Linked DNA regions of Homo sapiens: region 2 is linked to region 1. Evidence: promoter capture Hi-C in human tissues and cell types (Jung and others, 2019). All regions are on one chromosome and are shown on one strand. The core of a region is centred on a gene start or on the middle of the fragment in contact, and the rest is flanking DNA. Distances in the headings are between cores, read along the strand shown.

Region 1 (2,638 bases), core at 104-2,603:
ACCTGGTGAAACATTAGACAGAAGAGAAGACATTTTTGTTTTGGTCTTCCCATTGTCACAGCTCATACCCTTAAGTGTTCCATGCCCTCAAGGATCTGGTTTCACTGTCTTCATCAAATTAATTAACTGGAAAAAAAAGCTTGAGAAGGGGAAGGGGGGAAATATTTATAATGTTTGGCAAGAAGGAAGATGAAACTGCTAACTGAGAAAAAAAATGCATGCTGTTTAATCTTTTTCCTGTTTGCAATGTTTTCTTCCCCTTCCTGTACAGTTTTGCCTTGGGGCAGAAAATTCTCAGCACATAGAAGATTTTTCCCTCTCTCAGACATAACTTAAAAGCATAGTAACATAGTAACTAGCAACAGTAAGGAAGAGGTTTTTTTGTTGTTGTTGTTGTTTTTTTTTTTTGGTTAGGGGGAGTCTGAATTCCAGATGTGTGGCAACTAAGAGATGGGTGATTATTTGTAATTTGGTTAAAATGATCAGTCTAATTTTCCAAAGGTGAAACTGAATGGCAATAAGTACTGAGTTCTGATAAACAGAATGCCCTCACCCCCAACAAGGTAGATACCTATGTCCGAATTACCGAAACCTGTGAATGTTACCTTGTGTGGCAAAAAGGACTTTGCAGATGTGATTAAATTAAGATCTTGAAATTAGATCATGTTGGATTATTTGGGTGGACCAAAAATAATCACAAGGTCTTTATAAAAGGGAGGCATAAGGGTCACAGTCAGAGAAGATGTGACAGTGGACCAGAGGTCCGAATGATGTAGCTGCAAGCCAAGAAATGCAGGCATTCTCAAATCGCTGGAAAAGGCAGGGAGCAAATTCTGCCCGAGCCTCCAGATGGAGTGCAGCCCTTCCAACACCTTGATTTTAGTCCCCTAAGATCCATTTCAGACTTCTGATCACCAGAACTGTAAGATAATAAATGTTGTGTTGTGTTAAGCCACTGAGTTTGTGGTAATTTCTTACAGTAGCAATAGGAAACTAATACACATATGATGTTTACAGGGTTGTGTGTTGACTCCCATTATAGACAGGAATTTCACACAATAATTTTCAAGAAAACATATTGTATTCCAGACTCAAATACTAAGGCCGTAAAGCTCTTCAACCTGGAGAAAGCCTCTAAAAGTCATCATAATTGGGAAATTTACAAGGATGGGCCAAAGTAGATCAATATTCTGTTTTACTTTTTGGTGCAAGTTTAGACAAATCTGTTTATCTTGGACACGTTCAATGCCTTACTGTAAAGTTTGTCTGTGTACAGCAGAAGTGAGAGGAGAACCAATGAGCTGAGAGATAATTCAATCAATCTGCTTCCTCCGTCTTTGCTTCAGGGCTTCATACAGGAAATCTATTGCTGTGTCAAGTTCCAGAGAAAAGCTTCTGTTCGTCCAAGTTACTAACCAGGCTAAACCACATAGACGTGAAGGAAGGGGCTAGAAGGAAGGGAGTGCCCCACTGTTGATGGGGTAAGAGGATCCTGTACTGAGAAGTTGACCAGAGAGGGTCTCACCATGCGCACAGTTCCTTCTGTACCTGTGTGGAGGAAAAGTACTGAGTGAAGGGCAGAAAAAGAGAAAACAGAAATGCTCTGCCCTTGGAGAACTGCTAACCTAGGGCTACTGTTGATTTTGACTATCTTCTTAGTGGCCGGTAAGTTTGAATTCTCTTTGGGAGAACAGTGAGAAACCTGGTCTCAGCTCTTCCTGAGTTTATTTTTTGTCTTTCTTCTGGGGCAATACAAATCAATTGCAATAATAAATATAGGGGGTTGCTAAATATGGGTTACTCCCATATCTAGTTTACTTTATTATCCTTTTTTCCGGTGTCTTGCTTGTTGTACTTTGTATCCTACTACAATATACAGATCTCTATAATTTGTCTTACTGTCCATTTCCTTATTTCCTCCTGTTTTTTGAACAAGGCAGGATAAATCAAATACATACTAGCAGCAATCAAAGTCAGTTAGGTTCTCTTTATCTTATTCTCTTCCCCAACCCCCTTTTTTGAGACAGGGTCTTGCTCTGTTGCCCAGGCTGGAGTGCAGTGGTGCAATCGTAGCTCACTGCAGCCTGTAACTCCAGGTCTCAAGCAGTCCTCCCACTCAGCCTCCTGAGTGTCTAGGACTACAGATATGCGCCACTATGCTTGGCTAATTTTTAAAATTTTTGGTAGAGATAGAGTCTTGCTATATTGTCCATGCTGGTCTTGAGCTCCTGTCTTCAAGCAATTCTCCCACCTCAGACTCCCAAAGCATTGGGATTACAGGCATGAGCCACTGCACCCAGCCTCTTCTCTCTTAATTTTTTTTTTTAAGATAAGAACGCTAACTCATTTAGGTCCACATTGCCAGTGGCATAGATTAGGACAGTTTATTGCTTTCTGTCACTTTCGATGATTAGGCACTTCAAAAATATAATATGCCTACAGTTACAGTGGTGCGTCTGTGATGTATGTCTGTATTTATCTTCAAGATGTGTGGGCTGTAAGAGACACTACGAGTTAGAGAACAGACTCTTCAACATCTAGGTTCCTATAGAAGTTATAGAGAACTTGGGCCACTGTGGGGGTGTCCTGGTTTCACTGTAGAAGGTTGGTAGGAGTTGGTGTGGGAGGGAGTTTTCAG
Region 2 (2,638 bases), core at 48-2,547, 66 kb after region 1:
TAAACTATCTGTAAAGGAAATGAGGAAAACAATCCTATTTACATTAGCATCAAAAAATACTTGTGAATAAGCTTAACTAAGCAAGTGAAATACTTGTTCACTGAAAATTACAAAACATTGATGAAAGAAATTAATGAAGACACAAACAAATGGAAAGACATTCTGTGTTCATGGATTGGAAGGCTTAATATTGTTACAATGTTTATACTACCTGTTATGGTTTTCATGTTTGTGTTCCCTCCAAAATTCTTGTTGAAACTTAATGCTCAATGCAACAGCATTAAGAGGGGGGCCCCTCAGAAGTGATTAAGCTATAAAGGCTTCACCCTCATGAATGAACTACTGACTTAATAAAGAGGCAGACAGGGACCCCCTTTGTCCCTTCTGTCATGTGAAGACACAACATACTTACTCTGCAGAGGATTTAGCAAGAAGGCATCGTCTTTGAAGCAAATAGTAGCACTCATAAGACACTGAGTCTACTGGTGCCTTGATCTTGAAGTTCTCAGCCTTCAGAGCTGTGAGAAATAAATTTCTTTTGTTTGCAAATTACTCAGTCTGTGGTATTTTGTCATAGCAGCAAAATAGGCTAAGACACTACAAAGATCTACAGATTCAATTCAATTCTTATCAAAATTCCATGACATTTTTACAGAAATAGAAAATCAATTATAAAATTCATATGAAACCATAAAAGACCTTAAACAGCCAAGAATAAACTTGGAGGCATTACACTTCCTTATATCAAAATATACTACCAGGCTACAGTAATTAAAACAGTATGCTACTGGCATAAAGACATCTATAGACCAGCATAACAGAATAGAGATCCCAGAAATAAATTCATGCATATATAGTCAACTGATCTTCAACTAGGATTCCAAAAATACACAATGGGGACAGAACAGTCTCTTTGACAATTGATATTGGGGAAACTGAATAACCCTAGGCAAAAGAATAAAATTGGGCCCTATCTTATGGCCTACACAAAAATCAACTCAAAATAGAGGGTGGGCAAGAAATAGAGGATAGAATTTCTTTGTTATTTCACTAAAAATCCCAAATTCACCTTCAAATGTGTTGAGGAATTATCTATCTGGAGACAAGAATCTGATCCTGGTGATAACTCTGTAGTATAGAAAGTTAACAAATGTGCACAATTATATCCATCTTTTTCATACAAAGTTATCACTAACCATTCTTTTTGTCTAGCCAAACTGAAACCAGTATGAACCACTGGAAGTGGGTGGGGAGAACGCACAGGAAAATCCAAGGGCAGGATTATTGTGTGGTCAGGAAGATGTAAGGAGAATTTATGGGCAGAAACTTCAGCCTACTGGTCAGCACTCTTTATCTTTACCTTTGCAACCCATGTAGCAACCCTGAGTTTGCAGAAGGAAAGAGCATATCCTAAATTGCTTTAGCCAAAAAAAACAAACTGAACAGAGATGAAAAGAGATATTAAGTAAATATTATGAAGTAGAAGAGGCTAATACAATAATTTAGGTGAAGAATTATTTGTATTATGATCTTTTTGAGCATGTTACTTTTAAATACTTTCTGCCTCAGTGATTTCTATGTTAAAGTGCATATCCCTGGAAGGAGAGATTGTGTGTAACTCCTCTCATAAGCCACACAACAAAATACCAAAAAATATACATAGACACACATACAAAATGCAGTAGAAGATAAGGAAAATTACTTATGAAAAGGTCTTTCTTTCTATGCTGGTTATTCTTCTACCGTATCATTAATTGACTTAGGATAAGTTTCTTAACCTTTTCGAATCTCTACTTCCTTATCTATAAAAATAAATATAACTATACATGCCTCATAAGAATCATTCTGACAGTATCTGGGACATAGCTCAATCAATTACAATTGGATCTGAATCCTGGGTCAAATATACATGCTTCTCTTGAAATAAGTAAATGTATAAAAGCACAAACCAGAAAATTCAGTCATTATCACCTCAACTGTGCAAACAGGAAATGCTTCTATTTAAGTTGCTCATGAGCCAAAAATACAACCATCTAAGAGAGCAGGGGATTTCTCACCAGTGCTAATGGAGCAGAGCAAGAGAAGTAAAATACCATAACTAGGCCTATTATACAGTGGAAGAAAACATAGAGGCAAAGATAAGAAAAAAAAAATAGAAATAACTCCCTTTGGAAGATGGCTTCAGCTTTTGGGATACTGTTCACATTTTTTTTCATAGCTGGTGAGTCTGTTGGCCAAGTTGCGGGGATGCTGAGGGGTATTGGGCGAAGTAGAGAGGAAACCATAATTAGAAAAATACATTAGAATATTTTTCCACTAGAGCTTTTCCACTAGTCCTTTAAAATGCTCAGTTTAAAATAGCTCAAAGAGTGAAAATGCTACTTTATTTTAATCACTATGTTTTAAAAAAGAAAGATAATGTCTTAATTACTTATATTTCTGCCAAAATTATCTTTGAAAAAACATTTCTTAATAAAAAAATAAAAAAATGCCACAGGATTTTAAATAAAAATGGAGATTTCTAGTTTGACATGGTGAATTGAATAGATGTATCGTGTCTATTCTCTCCTGAATGGCTATTAATATGACAATAATAATATTTAAAACATATAGGCCTAAAGGAATCAAAATGTCAGGA

What was found. The method cuts DNA at HindIII sites, captures the fragments that hold promoters and counts their contacts. A contact is called where the count stands out against the background at its distance.
Region 2: a contact is called between a fragment that was not itself captured here and the fragment with the promoter of CD200R1 in region 1, in 2 of the 25 tissues and cell types used here (lymphoblastoid cells and mesenchymal stem cells).

What each region holds. Positions count from the first base shown.
Region 1 is chr3:112,973,818-112,976,455 of GRCh38, reverse strand. CD200R1 (CD200 receptor 1) reads left to right here and starts at 1,353. Exons shown (of 8, transcript NM_138806.4): 1 at 1,353-1,665. The coding sequence starts at 1,599. The HindIII fragment of the contact is 6,650 bases long and covers 1-2,638 here.
Region 2 is chr3:112,907,824-112,910,461 of GRCh38, reverse strand. No RefSeq gene overlaps it. Among named protein-coding and RNA genes, the nearest start is that of CD200R1L, 62 kb to the right of the region's middle. The HindIII fragment of the contact is 5,502 bases long and covers 1-2,638 here.